3 separate regions of the Homo sapiens genome follow, and regions 1 and 2 are each linked to region 3. Evidence: promoter capture Hi-C in human tissues and cell types (Jung and others, 2019). All regions are on one chromosome and are shown on one strand. The core of a region is centred on a gene start or on the middle of the fragment in contact, and the rest is flanking DNA. Distances in the headings are between cores, read along the strand shown.

What was found. The method cuts DNA at HindIII sites, captures the fragments that hold promoters and counts their contacts. A contact is called where the count stands out against the background at its distance.
Region 1: a fragment that was not itself captured here is called in contact with the fragment with the promoter of SYNDIG1L in region 3 in 3 of the 25 tissues and cell types used here (H1 embryonic stem cells, mesendoderm cells and thymus).
Region 2: a fragment that was not itself captured here is called in contact with the fragment with the promoter of SYNDIG1L in region 3 in 3 of the 25 tissues and cell types used here (H1 embryonic stem cells, lymphoblastoid cells and mesendoderm cells).

The regions. Positions count from the first base shown.
Region 1 is chr14:74,262,788-74,267,171 of GRCh38, reverse strand. No RefSeq gene overlaps it. Among named protein-coding and RNA genes, the nearest start is that of VSX2, 26 kb to the right of the region's middle. RefSeq lists an enhancer at 1,143-1,643. The HindIII fragment of the contact is 8,384 bases long and covers 1-4,384 here.
Region 2 is chr14:74,293,635-74,297,853 of GRCh38, reverse strand. ABCD4 (ATP binding cassette subfamily D member 4) reads left to right here. Exons shown (of 19, transcript NM_005050.4): 5 at 1,405-1,521; 6 at 1,875-2,000; 7 at 2,656-2,706. Among named protein-coding and RNA genes, the nearest start is that of ABCD4, 7.2 kb to the left of the region's middle. The HindIII fragment of the contact is 3,358 bases long and covers 1,227-4,219 here.
Region 3 is chr14:74,423,203-74,427,693 of GRCh38, reverse strand. SYNDIG1L (synapse differentiation inducing 1 like) reads left to right here and starts at 1,484. Exons shown (of 4, transcript NM_001105579.2): 1 at 1,484-1,782. The HindIII fragment of the contact is 14,133 bases long and covers 1-4,491 here.

The DNA.
Region 1 (4,384 bases), core at 1,405-3,904, 160 kb after region 3:
TTTTTACAATTTTAGATTTACAAAAAAAATTGTGAAGATAGTACAGAGTTTCCAGGTCCATAGTACAGAGACCTCATAACCCCCTGCTGTAGTTTGAATGTGTTCCTCCACGTTCATGTGTTGGAAACACAATCTGCAGTGCGACAGTGTTAGTAGGTGGGTCCTAATAGCTGATGAGGTCATAAGGGAGAATGGATTAACATTATCATGGTAGTAGGCCTGTTATAAAAGCAAAGTCGGCCCCCTCTTGTTCTCTAACACATGCTCTTGTGCCCTTTTATCTCCCACCATGTTGTGACGCAGCAAGAAGACACTCACCAGATGCAGTCCCTCAACCTTGGACTTTCCAGCCTCCAGAACTGTAAGAAATAAATTTCTTTTCTTTTCTTTTCTTTTTTTTTTTTTTTGAGCTGGGGTCTGGCTCCATTGCCGAGGCTAGAGTGCAGTGGTGCAATCTTGGTTCACTGCAACCTCTGCCTCCCAAGCTCAAGTCTTGTGCCTCAGCCTCCTGAGTAGCTGGGACTATAGGCATACACCACGCCAAGCTAATTTTTGTATTTTTCCTAGAAATGGGGTTTCACCATGTTGGCCAGGCTGGTCTCGAACTCCTGGCCACAAGTGATCTACCCACCTCAGCCTCCCAAAGTGCTGGGATTACAGGTGTGAGCCACCACACCAGTCTCTCTTTTCTTTATAAATTACTCAGTCCATGGTATTCTGTTATAGCCACACAAAATAGACTAAGACACCCCCTCACCCAGCGTTGCCTCTTATTGACATCGATATTAGTATGGTACCTCTGTTGAAATTGATGGGCCAGGCTGCCTCAGCTCCACACTCTGAAGAGAGGTGGGGAAGGCACTGCAGTAGGAGAAAGACTTCAAGGCCCCAGTGAGCTGTTGGGTGCAGGAGACACAAGAGGCTGGAGGGCCAGCAGGAGGCTGGGACCAAGGTCCCAGCGATCCCTGAGATCGAGTCCCTCTTTCTTGCAGCAGCTGCTCTCTCCAGGCCATAGGACTGGCCTCAGAAACTCCCCCACTGTCACCAGCCCTGCTTGCCACTCTCCCACTCCCAGCCAGACTCCTCCTCATCTTTCCCTGCCAGGCCTGCTCACCAGCACCCGCAATCCTCATGAACCAGCCCCTCCTGCCCCTGTAGCTCTCTGCTGCTCTTCTTGGGGCACGCAGCCATCTCTTGGCAGCCTGTTAGCCCAGCAGAACCTGGAATAAAATCTCCCTTCCAGGAGCCAGGTGTCAGGGTCAGAGGGAAGAAGACACTCCTGGGGTACAATCCCACCTAACAGGACTTCTCTCTTTGTTCTGCCTCATTTGGGCCTGGCCATCCAGGCCTTCCTTTCCTGTCCAGCCTCTCCCCTCATCGATTACTTGTAAACCTATTTGCATTTCCTTGTGCAGAGAGCTGCTTGCTTCTCCTCCGGGCAAATCCCCTGAGGTGATCGTCCAAGAGGATTTCTGCTATCTCCCAAGGCTCTGAGTGTCCCAGTTGTCCCCTAGGCCTACCCGAGGGTGGGGCAGCTGCCAAGGATGCCCCCTGGGCTTGAGAGGCTTGCGTTGGCCCCTCCACCTTTCCTTTGTGCTGTACGGTGCCTTTCTCCACGTCCTCGCTTCTTCCTGGATACTCTACGCCACAACGGGCGGAGCAGATGTTACTCTTCCATTTTATAACACAGAGAGAGGGTAAACACCCCGGCCCAAGGCCCACAGATGGTCAGGTCATCCTATTAGATGCTTTCACGGTTTCTTACAGCATGCCTCCAAGTTCACAGGACATTTGCAATTTTATATTTTATTTGTATGGTTACTTAAATGCTGTCTTTCCCTCCAGACTGTAAGTGCCATGAGAACAGGGAACTTGGGGCCAGGCGCGGTGGCTTACACCTATAATCCCAGCACTTTGGAAGGCTAAGGCAGGCAGATCATTTGAGGTCAGGAGTTCGAGACCCCATCTCTATGAAAAATACAAAAATTTAGCCAGATGTGGTGGCATATGCCTGTAATCCCAGCTACTCAGGAGGCTGAAGTAGAATTGCTTGAACCCAGGAGGCGAAGGTTGCAGTGAGCCGAGATTGTGCCACTGCACTCTGGCCTGGGTGACAGAGTAAGACTCTGTCTCAAAAAGAAAAAAAAAAAACAGGGAATCTGGGACTGCTTTGCCTACTACTATATCCCCAGTGCCTTGCCCCACTGCCTGATACATATTAAATGCTCAGTCATTATTTTTAAATTATTGAATAAATGATGAATTATAGGCAGAACATTCATCTGTGCATTCAATAATGGATTGAGGGTCAGGCCCTTTGATGGGTCCTGGGATAAAAGAAGAAGAAGATGTAGTGCCACCCTTGAAGAAATCCGTCTTATGGGAAAGATAGACTTGTAAATAAAAAAATTACATAATCCCAGTACTTCGGGAGGCTAAGGCAGGCAGATCACGAGGTCAGGAGTTCAAGACCAGCCTGACCAGCCTGACCAACATGGTGAAACCCTGTCCCTACTAAAAATACAAAAATTAGCTCAGCATGGTGGCACGCACCTATAATCCCAGCTACTCAGGAGGCTGAGGCAGGAGAATTCCTTGAACCCAGCAGGCGGAGGTTGCAGTGAGCCGAGATCCTGCCTCTGCACTCCGGCCTAGGCGACAGAGTGAGACTCCATCTCCAAAAAAAAAAAAAAATTACAACACAACGTGGAAAATGCCATAATCAGGAATGTCCCAAGTGCTGTCAGAGAACAGAGGTTATAAACTTGCTGGCTGGGCGCAGTGGCTCATTCCTGTAATCCCAGCACTTTGGGAGGCTGAAGTGGGAGGATTGCTTAAGCCCAGGAGTTCAAGACCAGCCTGGGCAACATAGTGAGACCTCATCTCTACTAAAAATCAGCCAGCATGATGCACACCTGTAGTCCCAGCTACTCGGCAGGCTGAGTTGGGAGGGCACCTTGATCTGAGAGCTCAAGGCTGCAGTGAGCCATGATCACAACACTGCACTCCAGCCTGAGCAACAGCAGGACCCTGTCTCAAAAATAAATAAATCAGCAAATAAATACACTCTTCCTGGAAGGTCAGGAGGGCTTCGGAGGGGAGGGGACTGGAAGGTTGACAAGTGGTTTACTTCCTGGAGGGTTGGAGAAAGACATTCCCAGACCGAGGATGAATCCTGCAGGAGCTGACATGCCGGGGAAGGCCTGGGAGCAGCCTGGCACGGCAGGACTTGAAGCCAGGCTCATGGCTCTTTCCCATCCCCACACAGGAGCTGGAGATTTCCCACATGTGCCCCTCAGGGTCCTGGTCTGCGAGGACCACATCTGGGTCCAATCCAGGGTATTAGGACTGCTGACCTCCTGTCATTCTCCTTCGCTGATGGGCTGCCAGAAACCTCATCCACGAGGGAGTTCACATCTAAGCCAATTTGAAACAATCTTACGAGATTTCTTGGGCCCAAATCTCAAATACAGCCTATCTCATCTGCTCACCCCGCTCTCTCATCTCGTAATTCCATCCATCACATCATCAAGTCGGTGGGTCACAGCTGTCAGTAGACAATTTCATATGGTCTTCCTCGAGCTGTTTCTCTTTGACTCTCCTTCCCTTTGACACGGATTTAGCATAATCTGTCTGGCTTTCAACTCCAGATACTGTTACCTCTTTCGTTTGTTGTTGTTTAGGTTGAGGGTAAGATGTGGAAGGGCACAGGTGTGCACAAAAGGAAGGGAGTTCTCTTGGGGGCCAAGGTGGGCTGTGAGCTTCCGCAGAGGGCAGTAGGAAACAGGGTTATCAGTAAGTCAGTACCAAGGAGAGAGGCAAATGCCGACTACTATGTGGGGAGTAGGAGGGAGTCAGAGGTAAGAACTATGGATCGTTGGGACATTTAGGTTGTGTCGATCATGGAGGCCAATCCCATGTCACAGTGACGAATGTCATTGAAGGGTGGTATCGGCTCAGTGGAGAGACGTAGGCCACTTGTACCTCTACAATTAGAGTAATTTTTTAAAAAAGGAACCCAGTAATTTTGACCTAAAATATCAACTTGTAGATTTACTTTTTTTTTTCGAGACAGGGTCTTGCTCTGTTGCCCAGGTTGGAGTGCAATGGCATGATCTCAGCTCACTGCACCCTCAACCTCCCGGGTTTAAGCAATCCCCCTGCCTCAGCCTCCTGAGTAGCTGGGATTACAGGAGTGTGCCTCCACCCCTGGCTACTTTTTATATTTTTAGTAGACACAGGGTTTCACCATGTTAGCCAGGCTGGTCTCGAACTCCTGACCTCAAGTGATCTGCCCACCTAGGCCTCCCAAAGTGCTGAGATTACAGGCATGAGCCATCGCACCCAGCCGTAGATTTACTTTTTATGCCACCCATACACACGG
Region 2 (4,219 bases), core at 1,656-4,155, 130 kb after region 3:
GCAGACACCAAGGAGATCATCTGCAGTCGTTTTCAAATGCTGCTGCCCAGAGTCATGGGGGAGGGTGCCCTGCAGAGGACTCCTGGAGAAGCTGCAGGGCTGTGAATAGGCAGCTAAAAAGAAGAAGCCTGCCAGGTGCAGTGGCATGCACCTGTAGTCCCAACAACTCAGGAGGCTGAGGCAGGAGGATCACTTGAGCCCAGGAGTAGTGCACCGTGAGCACACTTGGGAATAGCCACTGTACTCTAGCCTGGGCAACATAGCAGAAACCCCCATCTCTTAAAAAAAAGAAAAATGTTAGGAGCAGCTTTCTTTTGTCCTTTTCATACTTTATATCTTAGTCTTCCAGTAAGAAGACTAAGGGGTTTCTTTAGAGGGTTCTAAAGAAAATGTCCTTGCTAGAAAAACCAGCTCTTAGATTTTCATCAGTAAAAAAAATTACCACTATCCAGGACTCAGTCTAGGATTCACATCTCCATTCTATCACCACTCAGGTTATAACTCTTAAAGTCACCAAGCCCCAGGTTCCCCTTCTGTAAAATGAGGACAATAATAGTTCCTATCTCAAAGGGTGTAGTGAGGATGAAATATCATTCATGTAATGCACATGTACAGTGCTTGACACATAGCAAGTGTTTCAGTGTAAGTTAGCTATTGTTATTTTACAGATGAGGAAGCTGAAGCCCAGAGATTGCAAGTGACTTGCCCAAGGTCACGTCACTCATTGGGAATAGGAATCAGTATGGCCCTAGTGGTGAGATGAGACATAGGGGGTCTCCTTCACACCCATCCCCTCACTCACCACCTTCCTAGCAAGCACTTTGTTGGTTGGGGTACCTCTCAGCTCAAGCTTAGCTTTGGTGCAAAGATGCGTGGGAGGCTGCTGCTGCTGCCTAACTTCTAGGCCTCTTTCTGATGGCTATGGCTTCCATCCTGCCTCTGCCCCCTGAGTAGCTGGGACTACAGGTGTGCCTCACAGCCTGGAGCTTTCACAGCCAGATAACTAAAGGGGCCAGGCTAGGGCTTATATAAGAGAAATTTGGGAGGATTGAGATAAAGGGGATAGTCTTCTTGATCATCCAAAACAGCTCATCTACCTTCAAGTTTTTCTTTGGCTCTGCTCAGAGCTGGCTCAGGCCCCTGGGTACTGGACCTTTCAGTTCCCACTTTTTCAGGGGATTAACTAAGGCACCGTAAGATGCAACTCTCTAGAACCCTGTTTAAAGGCCCTGGGATTTAGTTGCCCCTAGGAAACCAGCCTTGTCTGGTTCCCTCTTCCCATAGGGTCAGTGTTCACAGCACTGTGAGGCAAGGTCAAGAGCAGAGGTGATGTGAAAGTTTCTTGTTCTCTCTACCTTTGGGCCCATCTCCCTGGGTCCAGCTACTCTGTGTCATTGGCTCCAGGGACCAGCGCATCAGCCAGGACGTGGAGCGATTCTGCCGGCAGCTCAGCAGCATGGCCAGCAAGCTCATCATCTCCCCGTTCACCCTCGTCTACTACACTTACCAGTGCTTCCAAAGGTGAAGCCTCCCTCCTCCCCAGCCTGGTGTTTCCCCAGAGGGCCCTCAGTCAGCTCTCCCAGGTCAAGGTCCAAGAGAAGCTTATTTCCCCTCTCTCCCACCGTACCTTACCACGTGCTCACCCATCCCACGTGCTCAGGCCCCTGCCCTTCCTTTGGCCCTGTGTTGCAGTGTCACAGATATCCTGGCTCTGAGAGCTCATACCAGATGCCCCCACATAGGAGCAGAGGGCCCATTGGGCCACTCAGATTGGACAGGGGCTACCTGAGAGGGAACAGGAGTCAGGGCTGAGGCATGTGGGGATAGGTGGCACCCCACACCCTCTCCCTTCTCTCCCTCTCTCTCTATTTCAGCACAGGCTGGCTCGGGCCTGTGAGCATCTTCGGGTATTTCATCCTGGGGACCGTGGTGAACAAAACTTTGATGGGCCCCATTGTGATGAAGCTGGTGCATCAGGAGAAGCTGGAGGGAGATTTTAGGTGTGTCTCCCTCACTTGAGGTTTCTGGGCTGGGGCATAATAGTTAAGGAAGGGGATCTGGAGTAAAACTGCCTAAGTTCAAATCCTAGCTGTGCCAGTTACTAGCTGTGTGATCTTGGAGAGGTCTTTAACCTCTCCAAGCTTCAATGTTCTTGTCTCTAAAGTGGAAATGGTACCGTTGCCTACTGAGAGGATTAGGAGGATTAATGAAATCATACCTGAGAAGGTCTGAGAACCGTGTCTGCCTGGCCATCACCATCGTCATTGTCATCTCTTGGCCTTCTCACTGCCCTGGCATAACCGCCCTGTCTTGGATCAGTTGGGTGTGGCAGCCAATGGATCCAGTGCCTGCCCTGTGCTTCTTGTCCCCCTCCTTTGGGCCAGGCCCTGGGAGGAGGAGATGCTGTGAGCAGGAATACCCCTGTCCTCTCTGCAGAAAGCTGAGGGGCAGCCCTGTCTCTGCAGAGCTCCTGCCACACCACCTAGCCCTGGGGTTTTCTACCCCATAACAGTCCAGGAAAGGGTCAGACTGAGGCAGCCACGGTTTTGAGGCAGAGCCGGGCTCCGCTTGGGCGGTCTTTGTGATCCAGGACTCCAACAAGAGTGAGGCCAGTACTCCCTGTTGTCAGCACACATTTCCCTTTGGTCCGCCCAGGTTCAAGCACATGCAGATTCGGGTGAATGCGGAGCCTGCTGCTTTCTACAGGTGAGTCTGGAGAGATGGTTCCCCTTCTGCCTTGCCAGAGCTGAGAGTGGAGAAGGAAAGATGAATCCTCAACCCTCCCACCACCACCGAGCTCAGGGGCTGAGTGTTGTCACACTTGGCTGTGACCCTCTCCCTCTACCTCCCCCTGCCCTTGCCTGCCTCATCCTTAGGTCCAGGGGTTTGCTTCTGAAGCTGGTGGTTCCTTACTGTGGCCAGCTTTAGTCTTAGTGGCCTAGCGTGGGGCCTGAAATTGTCAAATGAATGAATGCCTCATCCTCTTGCTGGTGACTGTAAGACATCCGTCTGCCTCTGCTCTTCTGTCTGTTAAGAAGCTTTCTTGCCAGTGCCTGAGGTTCAAGCCTGATCCTTTGTCTCCGTAGCGTGGGATGGAATGGGAGCTTCTCAGAAAACCAGGAGACCTGCTCCCCACAATGCTGTCTAATGGAGCCAAGCGTCTGGTCTCCTGACGGCAGCAGCAGGAGCAGCAGCAGCGGCATGAAATCCCATCCCTTCCCTCCAGGGCCAGAACCGGTCCCTGTGCTCTGCCTTATGTGAGGCCTCTGAAATCAGCGTTAGGATTGATAGTGCAGGCAGAGGTTTGCGTTTAAGAAGTGGAAGCTACTCCTTGGCTCTGTACTTGGGGTGGATGTGATAGCCCTGGGACCTTTGCTCCTCAGTCTCTGCTGCAGTTTGCAACCTCCACCACTTGAGGGCACCAAGAATACTGGGAATCTGCGCTGGGGTGGGGTTGTGAGGTGGGCAGGGCTGGGTGTGTAAAAAAGTTGCTTTTGGAGGCCGGGCATGGTGGCTCATGCCTGTAATCCCAGCACTTTGGGAGGCCGAGGCGGGTGGATTGCCTGAGGTCAAGAGTTCGAGACCAGCCATGGCCAACATGGTGAAACCCTGTCTCTACTAAAAATACAAAAAATTAGCTGAGCATGGTGGCGGGCACCTGTAATCCCAGCTACTGGGGAGGCTGAGGCAGGAGAATCACTTGAATCCGGGAGGCAGAGGTTGCAGTAAGGCAAGATCCTGCCATTGCACTCCAGCCTGGGTGACAGAGCAAGACTCCGTCTCAAAAAAAAAAAAAGAAAAAAGTTGCTTTTGGATTCTGCAGCCTCTGCTCATGAAGCTCTGGGGAAGGCAGGTTAGTTTGTAGAGTTTCAGATGAGTTCTTCTGTGGCCTCTGTGCAAAATCTGAAATCTCCCTCCACCTTTTCTGCCTAGCGAATTTCTTCCCATCCTTGAAACCCCAGATCACCTCCTCTGGAGAGCCTTCCCAGACTCCCTTAATGGCTAAGCCTATCTGCTGCCATGGCCCTGAGGGCACACTTAGTACTCCTGATTCCAAGTGAAGAATGCAGTGTGCCTGCCTGCCCTCTGGACTGAGAGCTCCTCAAAGACAGAGATAATTTTCTCATTTCTTTATTGCACTAGCTAACTAGTGCAATGCCTGGTACACCTAGTGACCGCTCTGTGTATGTTTATTTAACAATAGTTTTTATTTATTGAG
Region 3 (4,491 bases), core at 235-2,734:
GTGGTCCAAGACCCTTGCTGGCCTCAGGGGGCTTCTCACTGCATTATCCACTAATGGGGCAGAGACAGGAAGAGCAATAATATATTTAGCACCCAACAAGTTAAACACCAATACCAGCCCTGAGACAGACCCCAGGATAAGGGAGTTCTCTGTCCTGCCTTGAAGGGAAGGAGACCCAAGCCCCATGATGTGGACTTGCTCCTGGCTCCTACTGTGCACTCTAGGAGCTACACCGAACTGTGCCAGATGCCCACATCCTGTGGGAGTGAAGGAGTCCTGGAGTCCACCATGCTATGTGCTATAGCATCCTCAGCTGGATGCTAGGAGACTAGTGGATGCTAGTGGAATCCCACTGCCAGACCCTGGTTCCTTGTGTCTTCCAGCCCCAGCTGCAGCCTGCTCTGTGGTTTACTTTGCAAACCCACACTTACCTTCAGAAAATGAGAATACTCTCTCCTCCTGACCTCCTGGGACTTTGGTGAGACTCAAGACCTTGTGAAGGCGCTCGAAGAATAGGTTCATCCACTGGTAACACTCAAGATAGGGCATCCCCATGCAAAAAAAAAAAAAAAAAAGGAAACGCAGGTGGAGGTGGATAAAGAGCAGCACAGGGTGGAGACAAAGCAGCCAAAAGGCCTGCATTCGGATCTCAGGGCTCTTGCTGGGAAAACTCAGGGGGACGCTCACTCACTGAGTGCCTATTGAGTGCCAATGTGTCACGTATGTCATCTCATTTTGTCCTCATATGACCCCTCACTTTGTCCATGAGGAACCTGAGGCTTTAAGAGGTTAGGTAACTTGCTCGAGGTTATACAGCAAGTGGGACCCTAGGACCAAAACTTAGGTCCATGAGCTTTAAAACCTGTGCCCTTCCCAGCACAGCACTGAATCTCCAAATCACAGGATTTCATCCTTGTGAGCCCAGCGTCCTGGTCTGCAAAATTGGAGGGGGAAGGGGGACAGGGGGAGGGGGGCAGGGGGAGGGGAAGAGGGGAAGAGGGGCACTATATTGCCTAATAGAGTTGTTAAGAAAATTAAATGAGCTTATGTTGATTAAACACATTATCGGGCTTGGTATCTGGTATATAGTAGGTGCTCAATAAATGCTTTCTGTTTGTTTTTCTTTTTAGGGCAGATCAATGTTAAAAACTCAGGGCTGGCTTTGGAGCCTAGGAGCTCCAAAATGCTTCAAGAAGCCCAAGGGCCTCCCATCGCTCTGGGGTGCGCGGGAGGAGGGGAGAGAAGGGCTGGGAAAGAGGGCTCGGCTCCAGGAAGCGGGTACGCGGGTTCCAGCTGCGCGCCCCTCGCTTCGCCGCCTCCTCCGGGCTCCCCCGACTTCCCGCCCCGCCCCGCCCCGGAGCCGGGTCCGGAGTGCCTGGTGGGCTGATTCCGGAGCGTGGAAGGGAGCACGGAGCACGGAAGCGAGAGGGAGGCGGCGGCGGCGGGAGGCGGGAAGGAGGGGGACCCTCCTCGCTGCTCTCCCAAGTCGGCGCGGAGCCGCCTCGGGCCGGGCCGAGGGCTGCGCGGCGGCGGCGGCGGCGGGGCCCGGCCAGGATGCGGGGCTCCCGGGACCGCGCGGGGCGGGGCGGGCGGCGGCGGCGGGCTGCGGGCGGGAGCTGTCCGCGGTGCTGAAGCGGCGGCTGCTCAGGGACGCGGGGACGAGAGCAGGGGAGCCCTCCTGGGAGTTCCACCGCGACCGCGAGGCGGGGGCGCCGTCGCTCACCGGCCCATGCCGAGCCCCCGAGCCCCGCGGAGGAGGCGGGACCGTCCGCGGCGGGACAGGTAAGGGGCGGTCTGGGGGCGCCGCGGGAGCGCAGAGCTAGGCACGGAGCGGGGAGTGAGCTGGGGAGGGCACGGGAGCCCTCTCGGGGCTAGGGGCTCTGACTCCCTGCTTGGCCGCACCTTGCGCTCCGCCAAGGCTTGCACTTCGTCCCTCCCTACCCCTCATCCTGCAGGCTGGGGGTGCTGGGAGGGGGCTGATGAACTGGGGTCAAGACACCATAACCTCACAACATCAGGCCTTGACCCTGACCTCAGGCAGCTCCTAGACATCCTGCCTACTGACGGCAAGAAATACTGATTAGAGCCTCAGACTCCCTGGTACCCCAGTCCCCACCAAGGTTTTGCGACACTAGCAAAATCTGAGCAGGCTTCACTAAGCTCCCCTCTTCTCGCACCCAAACCTGTTCACCCAGGTGACTGAGGTGGCTGTGGTACCCCCTGCTCTGAGATTTCTCTGCCCTGGAAATGGCTCTTGGGCCAAGGGATTGGCTCTTGGGCCAAGGCCCCTTAGGATGGATTAACCCATTTCTTCAGGGAAGGAAGGAGGTCCTGGAAGATACCTCAATTTTTTTTCCTATGACACTCTTGACGCTCACAGAAGCAGGCAGGATTTGCATCACATCTCTTGGCGCATGAGGGCAAAGAGTCAGGGAACCTGGGTCCTGTTTTCTATTATGTGCTGGTGACCCTAGACAGAGCCTCCATTAGGAGTTCTCTCTCTTTCTGGCAAGAGTGCGCTGAATGAGCTCATTCAGGCCTGCAAAGTGCTTCTAGTTCTTCAGAGCAGAGTTCTCTATGACTGGCAGAATGTAGCGATCAAAATAAAACTGCGTGGAGGAAGAATTGGCCTACCCTTGTGGCTGACCACTTCTTTCTACTGCTTTATCCCCACCCTCCAACCCAACACAACTTCCCTACCCCCAGGGGTAGAAAGAGCACTAGAGTAGGAGTTCCTGGCTGGGTGCTGGCATTTACTGGCTTTAGCTAGTTCCCTAAGCTCTTTCAACCTCATCCTCCTCACCCCTGGAGTGGGGATAAGGTCACCGCTCTGCTCACCTCAGGGAACTGCCTTGGGGCCCAATGAAAAACAATGCACCTGATTGGAGGCTTGCCACCTGTACATCTCCATACCAGTGTGCGCTGCTGTCACTGTTCCCAACCCCTAGCCAGGCCTGCTGTCAGTGACCTGATTATTGTCACCCCTACCCCCTCTTCTCCCAGCATGGCCATGTCTCCCTTTGTCCTTGGCCACCGTGGGGTCCCAGAATCAGTGAAGCCAAACTTATAAACCTTAAGGAGAAAAAAGTGTGCCCTCCCTTCTTCTCCTCTTCCATCATCACCTATAGGAGATAATATAAGGTAAGAGTCTGACTCACCGGTTTTTATTTTTTCTCCCTAAGAACCACAGATCTAGGGAAAGAGCTCCCTGAAGGCAGGAATTGTGTTGTTTTCATCTCTTTGTCCCCCTTCATGACCCCCTCCCCAACAGCACCTGGAAGATAGTAAGGACTCGGTAATCGGGTGTAAAATGAGGGAATGAAATGTTAAAGTGTATCAGAATAAAAGCATTTAACTGGGAGTCAGAAGCCCTGTGTTCTGGTCACAGATCCGCCGCTGTCTCAGGCAGGTCCATTCCCCTCTGGGGGTTCATTTTTCTCATCTGTAAAAGAAGAGAGTTGGGCTAGATGAGTTAAGATTTCAAGCCCTGATATTCTGTAGGGCTTTCTGAGGCTGTCCTAAACCCATAAACCCCTCAATTCTGCTTGAATACAGGATGCCGGCTTTATCAACCTGGTTTGACAACAAAGTTAATGACCTTTTAGTAATGAACTGGATTTTATGAATGGAGTGAAAGTGAGCAATAGGAACCAGAAAAAGCCATTTATATTTCTGATGTTTTCTTAAGAACCCCCTCTCTTATTTCTCTGGGAAAGCCATAAGTGTGACTCAGAATGACTGAACTGAGAGGGGCTCCTGCCTCCAAGCCCAGAGGCCAGGAACCACCACCCCATTATCCCTGCCACCACCACCACCACCACCACCACCATCTCTTGTGAGTAACAAAGGGCCAGGGACCCCACCATTGGCCATCTCCTACCAGGGACCCTGCCTGGCTATGATCTCCCTCCTAGGAAGACCAGAGGAGGGGACAAGCAGGAAATATCCATCCCTACAGAGAATTTATATTTGTGTTACGTGTGTGTGTGTGTGTGTGTGTATATATATATCAATCAAAATGAGTTTCTCTGATAATAATTTCCCTCAACTGTGGCAGGTCCAGCCGATGCTCAGAAAAACCTTAGCTAATTGGCATTTCGGTAGAGCTGAGTAAACCATGCCAGTGACCTCGCCGAATTATTCTGTGAGTGCCCAGCCAGGGTGGGGGACCAGTCCCCCCTCCTCACGTCATCGCTTTCTGGCTCCCAGCTGTTGGTGCAGCACTGGCAAGAATCAGCTCTCTGGAGTTAATGGACAGTCACTAACCCTCATAACAAAGTGACGGCAGCAGCAGCAGCAACAGCAAGCTAGTGAGGTGTTTTCTTTTCTGCAAGGCTGGTCTGCAGAGGAGCTGGCCTGCTACTGGGGTGAGGACAATACACTAGCCTTCCTTCTGCAGCTGTTTGGGTGGACACCCCACTCCCAGAGCTGTCAGGGTGCAGGGCATCTCTGGTCACCCAGGCAGATGACATCTGGCTCCTCTCCTGACCG